Linked DNA regions of Homo sapiens: region 1 is linked to region 2. Evidence: promoter capture Hi-C in 16 types of primary human blood cells and fetal thymus (Javierre and others, 2016). All regions are on one chromosome and are shown on one strand. The core of a region is centred on a gene start or on the middle of the fragment in contact, and the rest is flanking DNA. Distances in the headings are between cores, read along the strand shown.

What was found. The method cuts DNA at HindIII sites, captures the fragments that hold promoters and counts their contacts. A CHiCAGO score of 5 or more calls a contact.
Region 1: a fragment that was not itself captured here is called in contact with the fragment with the promoter of TMEM161B in region 2 in 1 of 17 cell types (neutrophils); the score reaches 5.0 in neutrophils.

Annotation. Positions count from the first base shown.
Region 1 is chr5:87,868,009-87,875,199 of GRCh38, forward strand. LOC124901023 (a long non-coding RNA gene) reads right to left here and starts at 144. Exons shown (of 2, transcript XR_007058862.1): 1 at 1-144. RefSeq lists an enhancer at 4,589-5,608. The HindIII fragment of the contact is 4,711 bases long and covers 2,189-6,899 here.
Region 2 is chr5:88,266,530-88,274,019 of GRCh38, forward strand. It overlaps TMEM161B (transmembrane protein 161B), which reads right to left and starts at 2,316. Exons shown (of 12, transcript NM_153354.5): 1 at 2,192-2,316. The coding sequence starts at 2,194. It overlaps TMEM161B-DT (TMEM161B divergent transcript), which reads left to right and starts at 2,353. Exons shown (of 3, transcript NR_039995.1): 1 at 2,353-2,498; 2 at 3,997-4,056. RefSeq lists enhancers at 2,103-2,602, 2,293-2,482. The HindIII fragment of the contact is 4,710 bases long and covers 1-3,390 here.

The sequences.
Region 1 (7,191 bases), core at 3,294-5,793, 400 kb before region 2:
TGCAACACCTTTGCAGCATTAGTAATTAAGAGAAATCAGAAGTAGGTTTTATCTGCGTTAAGTTGTAGCTGAAAATGAAATATCTAAGGATAATTAAGAAAAAAATTAATTTAAAAAATGATAGCAATAAGGCTCCCCATGAATGATTAGTCAACTCTCCTCCTGATATAGACAACTTAATTACATTTCCTTATTGCAGCGTCACCATCCACCTGACTATGGTGACTGAATTTCCATCATGGACTATTATGCTTGAGTTTCCATTATAAACAGTAATTTTTTTAGGCTTAGAATTTCAGTCATTTCATGTTGATTCAGATTTTAACTCAGCATATGAGCTGTTCATCCAGCTGCCATTATGAAAAAAAAAAGAACATTTTAAGTCTTTCAAGACAGTAATGAATAAAAAATAAAGGTGTACAATTTTCATGTTTCTTTCCTCAATCTCTAGTCTAAAAGAAGTGTGCAAAAGAGTCTGAAAATGTTTCAATACTGGTTTTGATCCAAATGAATGAAAAGTATCGCTCTATTCATTTGAATGAGGAACACTGTCATAACAAATATTTGAAAGGAGATAGGAAGTGTAAGGCCCTTTCAAAAAAGAAGATAAAAACACTTCTAAATACAGTAAGAAATGCTGGGTATGATTTATTTTCCAAAACAGGAATAGTTCCCAATATAATTCTCATTTTATTAATCATTTCCTTGGGCAACTTTGCATTCATTTCTAGAAATTTTAGGAGTAAATTTCAAAAATTCCCACCAAATTGAAAATACTGGAATCTCATATATGTTTCATTGCTTATGTAATCTTTTTCATTGGTAATGTACTTGAGGCACATTTCTGATCTGGTTATTCTTAAGAACTATTTATTTTCTATTATGAAAGCAATGTCACTATCACAGTACTGTTGATCTTGCTTTGTAAGGAATTTACACATTTGTGGCTCAGAAGGAACTATACAGTTGGTCAGCTGTTTGTTGTATATTCATGTATTATCCAAATGATGACATAATGAGGTAATCACTTGATTGTTCTGTGGCCATTGCCTGCCTTCCTTTGTGTGACTGATTTTTTTTAAGAAGTACAAAGTAATAGTCAAAGTGATTTTCTTCTTTCAAGAAAACTTTAGTTTGTAAACTTGCGAAGATTTTTAAAACTGGAAAATCCTCTGGTGTTGACTTAGGTACGCTACATTTTTATGCTGTGAATATATGTATCACTTAAAATATACCCCTTTAAACACGGGAATATTATTAGTCTCATGAAGGCAAACAACACTCAGCAACAATCCTTGAACTATAAAATTTAAAAGTATAAAAACTGAAAAAATTACCTGAAACTAAGGAGTAAATTCTGGTTCCAAATATAACTGTCAGGAAATGTGAAGTGTAGCTTTTGAGAACTCAAAAGATGAAAATCAAGCTAATCTGAAAACATTTGTTGCATTCTATAATATCAAATGAATTGACACATATTCACTAAAAATTCCCCAAATAAAAAATTCAGTTAATCTTTGGAGGGAGAGATTTCTCACCTACTTACCTACCCACCCACCACACTGTTGGTATTTATGCACACATACACACAAATAAGGGTAGTGAAAAAGGATCAGATCAAAATTATGTGAAGTAGCCCGTATAGAATCAGTGATCATCTATACTCAATCTTTGTGAAGTAGATATTTGGAGAGAGTGAGAGAAAGTGACTGGAGGTGGACTCTGCTCTCTAAAAGTCACAATTTTAAAACTCATTAAATAAAGCTCAGAATACTGTACAAGACTGGTATATATTGCAAATGTTCTTTGGTACTCTTATCCTATGTGATAGCAAATAGCCATGCTTCTCATAGACCGTGACTATCTCTTTCATTCAACCACATTCATTGAGTACTTACTCTTTTTAAAAGACCAGATATGTACAGATGTATAAAAGAGGCTCTTTAACCTCATGTCACTTGGAGTCCAAAAACTGGTTAGGATGAAAGGAGAGGTTTTTCAAAGGCAAAATTCCCCTGACACTTAGAGGTGGAGGTTCTTTAACCTGAATGATATATAATTCATAGTTTCTCCCACGGGGAAAAAAATAAACAGCAAATAAGGAAAAACTTTTTGAAATATTGTGGCACCTTTATCACTATTAAACATGTGATAATTCTAGAATAATCTGATACAGAGGTGGAAATTAAGCTTGCTGACATTTGTCTAAAAGAATTGCCTGAATGAAGGTGGGGAAGGTAAAGGAAATGATAAATCTGATGAAAAAGTAATAGACTCTATTCTTCAACCAAATGTGAATCATTTATCTGTCACACACTTTTTTCAAGTAAACCTCCTAATTAGCATGAATAATTAGAAACAGGATTTGCATATTTTCTTTCAAAGAACAAATTGTGGCTTACCATCTTGATATCCCAACAAAGTATATCTAACCTAACTATTAAAATATTGTGAAGATTTCTATAAATAAAAACATTTACTACGGTCAGATTTTCAAAGTCAAAATAAAGTGACTGTCTAGTGTGTTTGAGGATATTTGGAGGGTTCTATTTGGCTGCCTACAATTCAATTCAGTATAAATTTGCTAAGAATTTTGGACTCATAAAACACAAAAAAATGCTAAAATCATTCTTCCCTAACAATTATTTGCCAGGTTTATACAGATGACTTCCTCAACTTTCCTTTGCACCAGTTTTTCATAAATATGGTGATCATCCTCTAATTCCAGTATTCACATAAGTTGTTCTCTTTGCATATATCACATTTCAATATTAAAATTCAACTGTTTATTAAAGAAAGAGCAACCAAGCCAGGTGCAGTGGCTCACACCTGTAATCCCAGCACTCTGGGAGGCTGAGGTGGGTGGATCACCTGAGGTCAGAGGTTCAAGACTAGCCTGACCAACATGGTGAAACCCTGTCTCTACTAAAAATACAAAAATTAGCTGGGTGTGGTGGTGCACACCTGTAATCCCAGCTACTTGGGAGGCTGAGGCATGAGAATCTCTTGAACCTAGGTGGCAGAGGTTGCAGTGAGCTGTGATCACGCCATTGCACTCCAGCCTGGGTGACAGATTGAGACTCTTTCAAAAAAAGAAAGAAAGAAAGAGCAAATTTCAGAAAGTGATTTAAAAATAAATGATTGACCGCCCCCCCCACCCCCACACACACACTACATTAATATTTGGTATACGTTATATTGCTTGAAAGAAGATAATATGATATTTTTTATTTTCCCTCTATTTTAATGACAGTTTCTTTCTGCTCTCTTTAGGGAAGAGAAAAACTCAAGTTATTTCTCTACAGAAGAAACCTAAATGGTAAGTGTGATACTGAACTGATAAACTGAAGTTGCCAAAGTGGTTAGTAAATGAAAGGAAGGAGAAGCAAAGGAAAGTCTTAGCTTCTAACTCTGTTCCATGCTAAACTAGCATACTCACCTATCAGCACACCAGATATAAGCCAAACCTTTGAGGTGAGATATAATTCCCTTCATGATCTCAGATGAGGAAGCTGAGATTCAAAAAGATCAAAATCTGGCCAAAGACACATGGCTAAAAGGAGGATTAAAACCCTGAATAAACCTTGACTAGAATCCACCAAACCATAGTCTGAAGGAAACTGATTCTGAATCAGAGAGTTTGGAAATTAAAGTTGAATAACCATCATAAAAAGATGCAATTTTGGTTTCAACAAAGACATTTGGCTGAAGACAGCAAACAACCAAGGGTCTGCTCAAGAATCTTTGAAGTTAATTTCTAGAAAAAAACAAAAAACAAACAAACAAAAAAAAAACAGAGTCTTATACATATTTTGCCATTCATGGTTTTCCCATTTCTGCCATACATCAACTGTGAATATAGGAATGGTTTCAAAGCCTACCTCAAAGTGGTCCTAATTTAAAGATAGATTGATTGGTCTGGCTCCTTGGCTTATTTACAGGGTTCTACTGTTATCTGATGAAGTCAGGTTCACTAAAGATTTGTGAAAAATGAACTGCTTTTACAGTGCGAATCCCTTACCTCACCTTTCTCCACCCCAAATCCAAAGGTTTCTTTGGGTCTGTCTCCAGGTAGCCTACATATACCTGAACCATAAACTCCCACCAGTTCTATCTCTGGGAACCAACATCAACAAGGAAGTATCACTAGATTGTCTAGAAAATTCTGTAGAAAAAGAGGGCCAGAGAAAGGAGCTGACTAGGTCTTTATCATAAAACATTCTAGTGAGGATAATAAATGACAGACATATACTTGGGATCAAGGTTAGAGTTATCTAGCTGGCTTAAAGGCTCTGGGTTTTATTTAATGCAGGAAAACATCAACATTTCCCAAGAGGAGAGGCATTTATTTTAAGTGTTATTCAGGTGTATTTTTGCAAAATTCCCCTTTCTATGGTGCAACTATCATATACATATTTAAATAACAGACTGTTAACCTTTTAAACTTGTGTGGTCCTTTTACATATAGGTGAAGTAATTACAAAGTTACAAATAATATTATCATGTATCTGTCGAGTTTATGTGGGTTTCCCTCGAAGAAGGAAAGATTCCATTTATTAATCTGGAATCAATCCCCTTCTTTCTACTCAGGGTTTGTGGTAATGCCCAGTGATGAATGTCATAGCTGGCATCTTAGATAAAATGTTCTTTCTGAACAACACCCAAATATGCTTAAAATTGCAGATGACAGTTGTAAGCCTTTTTGCCTGCTTATCTGTCTGCCTTCGATGTGACCCTAAATTAGGCATCAGAAGGTGTAGAGTTTAATACAGATTCCGGGCACAATATACCTTCTCACAATTAGTTGAAAGTGCTGTTTTGTAATTAAAGGGTGAAGTGGGGCATGATGAACATATGGAAAAGGAGACCCTTAATAAGTGATGGAGCCTTCAAAAGAAATTGCTAATTAGTATGCATTTGATGTGCACTATACCAATTTTAAGACTTTGCCTTGAATAAATTGCTATGTTGGGTGTTCGAAGGAGTGGTGAGATTAGCATTTACAAAGGGGGCAATTTTCTGTCTTCTTGACTCTGTTAAATGGAGGAAATAACTTCCAAGACTGGAGCAGTAGTTAGCCCATCAATCATTCTCACAGCTGGAAACTGGGGATCCCAAATGCAGAGATCAGTTAATCCGTCAGCTAATAAGTTCATAGTGGCACCATATGGCGCAGGGCCACTCCACACTGGGACAAGGACAGAACTGTTTACACAGGCATGCTGCTTTCTCAGGTAGCTCCCTGCTGACAGAATCCTTTGTTCTGAAGGATCAATTTACTTTGCACAGTAAATTGACTGAATTGATCAGTTCAGAGCATATAATTGTTGGCTAATCCTGTGGAATCATGTCCCATCCATGTGAGAGGGACAAAAGGGTGCTGCCCATGGCCTGGTCTGGGGCTCCATCCTGGGGCTATTCTCGTCGGATAGGTTGGACACTGATTAAAGGACCAGTGGACAGTAGATGTGTTGTCAGCATTGACTTCAAACGCTAAAGGGAAGAGAAACCTTGCAATGCCCAGAAGGGTTTTCTGGGTGTCTTTACTCAACTGGTATCATGACTTAACTTGGAATAGAAACAGTCAGTCAAGGCAATTTAGGTGCAAATTCTTTTCAAATACATGCCTGGAAGAATGAAAAGTACTGCTCCATCTCCAAATCTAACAAGTTATTCCACTAATGCTTATTTCGAAACTTACCTTCTATTTCTTTTCAAAAAAAGGAAAGGAAGACAAAAAAAAGTTTAAGAGATATGTTCAGAAAAGTGTGGAAACTGCAATTTAAGTGAGAAACACATTTCTTAGGCATGTGCAAAAGTGGCTGAGGTATCCACTGTCATGCCTGTGTATGGGGTATGGGAAAATGCATCAGGGCTTTTGAGAGCAAATTAGAGCAAAGTCTTCTCATCCCTGCACATTAGTGTGAACCCTTGTGCTTTGTTCCATAGATGTGTTTGATCTGACTTTGTTTTTTCCTTCTCACATAAAAAATAAAAGAAGAATATATAAAATGAAAAAATTCCACCAATAGAGATAAATGTTGGACATAGCTCCCTTCAACTAAAGGTTTTCTTCAAAAGTTAGTGTCAATAGAATCATTTCACATCAATGGCTTGAAAAGAGAATTGTATTCAATAGGAACTGCAGCCATTTGGAGTTGCTGAGAGGACATTTGCTTATTAAATGTCTGAACAGTAATGAACTTTATACAACTACCCCAAGAGTTTCACCAATTAGACGGCTACTAATTTCTTCACTTATTTTACTGAGAATAAATGTCTGAGATCAGTGTCATAAGGAGAAATTACAGCAAGTTTTTGGTTTGACAGAATTTGGAATCTTAGTGATTATCCCAGTTTTTCTCTTTTCTATAAAGAGGTATGTGCTTGATGATACTTAAGCCAATAGAGAGGGGCATACCATTTAATGGTAGTTGGTATGTTTTATCATAAAAATCTAAAATTAATAATTAAAAAATATTATCAATATATCTTCCAATACTTTTATGTGTCTTAATTTTTTTCCTCTTATGGAATTTTTAATTTCCCTATTACTATATACACAGTATACAGGATTCCACAGCATTAAAAAGCAGCAAAACCAATAACCAATAAGTATTTGTATATTTTATTTTAGGAACTACCATAGTGAGAATGAGATAAAATATAAATAATTCTGTAGAAATACTTTTAAGTTAAACTTGGGAAATTAAAAAAAAAAAAGCGGAAACATAAATTGTATAATGAAAACATCATAAGTGGAATCTAATGTGAAAGCAGGCACTTTGCCAAACAACCCTTTTTAGGGAGCAAAAGCTCTTTGTAATTTTTTGGTACAGTTTTCCCTTTCAAATGTTATCAAATTGGATTCTCCCACTCCATAGATAGCATATGAGACAAGCTTTAACTCTTTCTGAAACATTCATTTGCTAATTTTCCCTTTATTTAAGTAAAATTCACCCAAGTGCATATCCTAAAGTTGACATGAGTTCCCACACTCTAAATCACCAAGATCAAATCCATTTCCTTGCTCTGTTCTGAATCTGGCCAAATCTCCGCCTCCCTCCTATCTCAGCGTTTACCATACTGCAGAGGTAATGTCAAAGTTCTTGCATTCTAAACTAAAAGACAAAACTCATAGCCATTGAAACATATGTATTTTGCATGTTCATGGTATGCTACATAGTTGGA
Region 2 (7,490 bases), core at 1,066-3,565:
TCCCACTTCTCTTACCCAGGAGGAATTTGGAACTCTTATCAAAATTGAGTGACTTTTCCAAATCCATATAACTAACAATGGGCAGAATCTGGGTCCTCTGGGGTCAATACTAATGTTCTTTTCATAATATCATTAGGCCCCAGCAATGCAAAACAAGTTCTGATTTCAACAAGCTGAATCCTCAATAAATTCAGCCCATGTTCACTTCATTTAATGGTTAAACTCTTCCCTTTGAAAAATTCCAAGCATTAACCACACTTGCATATACAGACATTATCAATTTCATAGCTGGGAAAGATAAAACTCAGCCAAGATAATTAGCTCAGAAATATAAGCACTTCCAGAAGGAAAAGAGCCAACTAGTTAGTTCCAAAATGACATTCAGAAAAACAGCATAAGATTACATTAGTTCCAAACATTAACCATCTCTTTTGAACCGACAGGATAAGCAGGATTCTACTTCTAGTATTCCAAAACACTGAGAACAAGTTCATGTTCAGCTTTTCTGTGACTATGATGAACTTAAGTATTTTAATTATACTTTACCTTCAACTTTTCAGACCAAAAAGTCAAAAATTAATCTTAAATTTAAAAAATGAAAATATGAGTTTTAGTCCAGACTGCCAAACTACTGTTACTTTAGAAAAATCACTGTCAATTTCTAGACCCCAGATTCTTTCTTCTGTAAAAATGGGGATGGAAGAGTGATTACTAGGCTTTGGTTTCTCCCAGTTCTGTTTTCCCTATCCTTGTCTAATTTCACTGATACAAAAGAAAAACAACTTTCTTAATACAAACCATATTATTCACTGAGGCTTAAAAAAAAAAACTTTAAAGAGATAGGTTATCTGGTAAAGTGCACCAGGAACTACATTATTTTGAAGGTCTTTGTTCTACATTCAGCTAAGTTTCTAAAAGTCATTCAAAAGCCAATCACCACACACATTAACTGAATGTTGGCAATATTTGGCCCTGAAAATATAAGACAAACTGAAGCTAAATTCCAGGACAGAAGCCTCTGCAAGTGAGGGTTTGAAATCTTGTATACGGTGAAGAAACTGACAATAATGAACTTCACCAGAGCCCCGTGATCTTGAAAAACAGCAAAGGTTAAGAAACCCCTTGCCCCCGTTTGTGTTCTGAGAAATTGGCTTACTGCAAAGAATCATCTTTCCTGTAGAACTTAGATAAGACTAAGGGTTGATCCATACCCCCCTACCCCTTGTTTACCTATAACAAGGCCATAACTAGACCCTTCTAATTCCCATCCTTTGCTTCGTAAATGACTTGCTGAAGTACCTGTCCCACAGATCAATCGGAACAAAATACTTATTAACCAAACTTTAAGATTCTCTTCTCTCGGGTACCTGAATTTTGTCCTTCCCTCAGTCTGAAACAACATATACAAACCTCTCCTAACAGCTCCTCCTCAGAATACATGGGCTCAGGGTAAAACATTATCTGGTTACTGCCGGATCATACCCATATTTTCATCCCAATTCCTGACATCTTATTTACCCCTACCAACAAAAGACAAACCCTTTCTGCCTAACCTTTAAGGTGCATGCAAATCTTACGGTCATTCTCCCTACTGCAACAGTTCCTTCAACCTTCCTCCACACCCCTGCAATATTCCTTTCGAATAAAGTCTGTCCTTACTAAACTCGGGTTTTTTATTTGACACCCTTTTCAATTATGAAATGGCTAAGTGTAAAGAATAAGGGGACTACCGTTTCTTTAAATGACAGGTGTTGATCTTATACAAGGAGACCCGTTGTGTCCACCTGGAGAGGCTAAAAGCATTTCTAAGATCTGAAGTTCTTGGCCACTGTTCCGCGGATGGAGAAGGGGGCGCAGAAGAGGTGACTGACCCGGCAAGGTCAACTCTGGGATCACCTGGCGCCACAGGCCATACACAGTAAATGGGCCATGAACAGGCAGGCTACCCAGTCCATACTCCCTGACAGATACGCCCCTGCCTCCGGCCCGCTAGTCTCCCAGACAGGTAGGCGTAATGCTGCTTCCTCAGGGGCTCAGACACCCTGAGATAGGTGGTGGGTCCTACCCAGCAGCTCATCCCAACGTCTCAACTCCATTCTGAGCAGAGCACCTGATGGCTCTTTTCACAGTACTGACCTCCCCGCCCTTTTCGCCCCACCGTTGTCACTCCTGCCCTCACAGAAGAACTCACCATGGCGCCTAGGATAGGTCGTGGACCAGACACCCTGGAGTTGCCGGGGCAGTCCCAAACCTCTTACCTCCCGGTCCTTGAGCCGAGAGACTCTCAAACAGCGAAAGAGAGGGTCTTCCGGCTCTGCCGGAAGTTGTGCGCGCGCGGGACAGGAAGTTCCTCCCTTCTCCAGAGCGCCGTCGACCCCACGCCACGCAGAGGTGAAGATACGCAGGACGTCCTCTAAAGCAACTTCCGTGGGTGCCAGGTTGTGGGCTGGGGGCGGTGCTGACCTTGAGAGAGCGGAGGAGGCGCAGGCGCAGCACAGGTACGTGGGCGGGCGGATCGTGGTGGCTGCGCTTGCGAGGACCCTGAGGTAGATTGGGTGGTTTCAACAGGAACGCATCCACTGTCTGAGAGGTGACGGAGGCACACGTTGGTGTGGGGAGCGGGAGGGGAGAGGGAGGGGGGCGGGTGGGGGGCGGGAGGGGGCCAGGGGTGGGAGTGAGGGTGCGCGATGGGAGTCGACTCCAGACCCAGGTGATTTAGAGAGAGTAAAGACCACCTTTGGCCGTCATTTTGTCTCAGCTTAACTGACGCCCTCTTGTTACCCTCTAGTTTTCCTGACTCGGTCCCTTATTAGCATATCCTCATTTCCACAGACCTGTCCGTCTGTTGCTTCTGTTCCCTGCCTTAGTGGGTACCGTAGCTCTACCCTCCTTCCGGGCAATGGAATCTCATAGTGAGAAGTTTCTTCACTATTCACAGGTGGCAATTGAAGCCGGAAGAACATCTACCAAGAGCAGAGAACCCAGGAAGAAAATTCTGCCTCTTTAATACGTTCCAATATGGACGTTTTCCATATAGATACCTATCTATATAGATAGATGCTCTGGGATCTGACGGTCCTGGACACCTGTATGGCTGTGTGCTGTGGTCTTTGCCTAGCCTGCGGTTCACTTTTGCTCTGGCCACCACCTCCCCTCATGTACAAACCGCGTCTCTGCTCTGCCAGTCTTGGCCCCCGTCAGGCAGCGGTTCACTCCCTCACCAGGGAAGTCTAGATAGATAGATATAGATAGATATCGATCGATAGATATAGATATATATATAGATAGATAGATAGGTAGATATATGGATAGATATAGATATTTGGATAGATATGTAGACGTCTATCTATAAATATATCGATATATCGGGGTTCTCAGCCATCCCAAAGAAGCTTGCACAGGGCCAGTTGCTTTATGTCAGGAAAAGGGACACAGACTGAGTGTATGAGGGTTTTTTTTTTCTATAGATGTATAGATATTTATATCAGATGCAAATAAGTGAAACTCTCATACAACTTTTAATTTTGTGTTTTTTCCAAACTCTATTCCATTCAACTTTTTCTGCCTTTTTATTTGATTATAATGAGACATCGTACTGGAGGCAGGCTTGAAATGGATATACAGAGCACTTTCAACCCAGAAATTTGTCTCACGACTTGGGGTCCTTACTTAAGTTGTAGCTGTTAGTAATTTCATCCATGAATTCACTTTGTGCCATAGTGTGATGTTTTGTTATGAAGTTGGAATTGGGAAGGGAAACTAGGAAGTTTTGGGAGAAGTTAAGAAGGTTGAGTAGGCAGGCGTTGTTATAGATATTAAATTTCACCCTGCTTATCAAAGTACCTGGAGCGTATGGTATCCAAGCTGTAAATGGCCCAAAGGAATCGGGGTTCTCAGCCATCCAAAAGAAGCATGCACAGGGCCAGTTATTTTATGTCAGGAAAGGGGACACAGACTGAGTGTATGAGGGTTTTTTTTTTTGTTTTTTTTTTTTAGTTTAAACTTGATTTTGTGAGGGGACGAACAGCGTGACAATTAAAAGAAGATCTGGGAATCGTAAGTACTGACAGAATACCTGGAGGGAAGGTGGGACTGGAGAATAGTTTGTGAAACAGATCCTGCTGAGGATGAATCCAGAACTTCCTGAAGGGTTCCGCTTCTGCTGTGTAGGGACAAGGTTGTAAATAGACAAGCCACAGGCACCTGCAAATGGTAAGTGTGGTAGAGAGGGGCTGGAATTGCCTGTTGGTGTATCTGTGGGAAGCAGCTGCTATCCTTGAGGAAGAAAAGATGGAGAAGGTAAGTGGCTATCAACCTGTCAGAGACAACACATTCTGTGAAGTTGTACTCTTTCATTTCTGACACTGTGGTTCTTAATATCTGTCCTAAACCTGGCAGTCATTGAGGTTCGCAAAGTATCTCCTTCTATGTGACAGTAAAACTGGAATTACTATCAGAATGGAATCCATTCCTGCTAGAGTAAAACCATGAAAAGAAATCGCAGTTTTGATTATCTGCTTATCATTTTTAATAGATCACAGAGTGCAGTGTTCCTTATTTGTTGTATGGCAAGTTGATGAATAACTCTTGATTAATATCTTTTAATGTTCTGTTTCACACAGTTCTCTCAATTACATGTGAAAAATCTGTTATATAAGTAATGCTATTTAATGATTAAAATGGATATATGTTTTAAGGTAGTGCCACCCAGTCTTTTTTTTTTGGTAGAATAATATTATTATCTATTGGTTGCCTGCCTTGAAGTACAGTAATTTCTCTGTTTCCATTATTTAAAATAGGTGAGTGTCTTTGACAAAGATACAAAGAAAGGGGACAGTTATGAAAGGGAAGAAAAGATAGATGGAGATGAAAAGAAATTCAGTAGTTTCAGCAAGGGAATTAGGAGCATAATCTTTGAGAAAAGTCTTGGTTGCTTACCATTCGGGCTTTGTGATGAGTTGAAATGTCCTGAATGAGAACTGTTCTCAAATGCTTTCAAGACCAACAAAAAGTACGATACCCACACTGACCTGGAACTCTTTAAACCATTAAGATATATCACTTTTTCGCAGTTCAGTCCATATTTTTTGCAAAATGTTCTGCTTAGTTTTTCTGCTAAGAAATTACTGTTTCTGAACAAGGTTAAGTGTCGTATGCTTTCATTGTAGTTTTTTTTCCCCTAACATATACTGTTTTCCTAATTAGACTATAAATTCCTCCACAGCTGGGACCTTGTTTTGTTTTCTCGCCTTCCCCATAACAAATATCATTTAAGTGAATGTTGTAAACAGTTACTTCATTTAAATTGCCCTTAAAATGCTTTATGACAAAGACGTTATTTGTAGTAATACCTATAATGGTAAAAAGTTTGTTGCAGTCTTACAGACGATAAGATTGATCAATTGTTATATATGCTTAGTGGAATTTTATCTAGCTGTTCTAAAGAGCCATTAGACTAGTCTTTCTAATGGAAAATGTTTATTGTCTAAGTTAAAACAGCATTTGAGGCCAGGCACAGTGGCTCACTCCTGTTATTGCAGCACTATGGGAGGCTGAGGTGGGAGGATCACTAGAGCACAAGAGTTGGAGACTAGCCTAGGCAATATAGTGAGACCTCTTCTCTACAAAAAATTTAAAAATTAGCTGAGTGTGATGGGGTGTGCCCGTAGTTCCAGCTACTCAGGAGACTGAGGTGGGAGGATCACTTGGGTCCAAGAGGTAGATGTTGCAGTAAACCAAGATCATGCCACTGCACTGCAGCCTGGGCAACAGAGCAAGATCCTGTCTCAAAAAATTAAAAAGCATTTTATAGACTGCATGTTTGTGTCCCCCCTCCCTCCGCACCAGAATTCATATATTGAAGCCTTAATCTCCAATGACATGATATTAGTAGGTGGGGCCTTTGGGGGGTGATTAAATAATAAGGGTGAAGCCCTGCATGGGATTAGTGCCTTTACAACAAGAGACCCTAGACAGCTTGCTTCCACTCTTTCTTTGCTCTTCACCATGTGAGGACACAGCAAGAAAACAGACAACTACAAATCAGGAAGAGGGCCTAATTTGTGCCAACCATGCTGGCACTCTTCTCTAACTTCCCAGCCTCCAGAACTGTGAGAAATAAATTTCTGTTGTTTAAGTCACCCAGTTTATGGTAGTTTGGTTATAGTTGCCCATATTAAGACAGCAGGATGCAAAATTGTGGCCAGTATGATTGCTTTGACATGAAACAAATTTTAAGCACAAATTGCAAAAAGTAACCAAAATATATCAATCCCCACTGCTGGCATTAACACTCTAAAACAAACTTTGTATATTGGGGGATTTTATTTATTTATTTATTTATTTTTTTTGCTGACCATAGTGACTCATGCCTATAATCCCAGCACTTTGGGAGGCCGAGTTGGGCAGATCACTTGAGGCCAGGAATTCAAGACCAGCCTGGCCAACATGGCAAAACCCCCTCTTTACAAAAATATAAAAATTAACCAGGCATGGTGGCACACCCCTGTAGCCCCACCTACTTGGGAGGCTGAGGTGGGAGGATCGCTTGGGCCTGTGAAGCAGAGGTTGCGGAGAGCTGTGATGGCACCACTGCACTCCAGCCTGTGTGACAGAGCGAGACTATCTCAAGAAAAAAAAAAAAGGATGAGGATTTTTTTTGTTTTCAACATGCTTTTTAACATCCACTATATTACTCTCATCTTTCTAGGCTGGAAAAAAAAATGTTTTAAATGTTATTCTGAAGTATATTGCAACCTTTAACAATTCAGTAGACTTCTGAATTTTTATTTTCATGTAGCTTACCACAGTTGTATCTAGGAATATATCACATAGCTGATTAATTGGTGAAATAACCCTTGCAATTTTACACAGGTTGTACAGTGCACATTTTCAAGGACCACTCACATACATCCATTTGATATTTTTTGGTATCAAGAAAGTCTTTAAACAATCAGTACCACCAATAGCAGTAAAAAGACAAAACTGTCTGAAAGTACCTATCTGTTTAAAACTTTAATTAGCTTTATCCATCCATTAAATAGTTATTGAATATAAAACTGTATCATTCACTCTTCTACACTCTGAGGAAATAGTGGTAAATAAAGCAGATATTGTCCCTACTATCAGGAAATTTACATTTTAGTAGTAATAAGCCATAAATTAACAAAAACAGAAGACAGTGGTAAGTACTAGGCATGAAATTCAAACATGACTATTTTAGATTAGGTGATTAAAGAAACTAAAATACCATTTAAGCTGCTGTGTAAATGACAAGAGAATCCAGCTTTGTAAAAATTGGTGAACCCTTTGCTTGCAGAAGGGACAACTGCAAAATCTAAGGCATGATCTAGCCTGGAATATTTCAGGAGCCAAAAGAAGGCCTGCATGGTTAGAGAATAGTGACTTAAGACGCAAATACTGTAACTTTGGAGGGATAGGAAAGGGCTAGATCATGTTACCTTTGAAAGACAGGAAAGAGTTTAGATTTT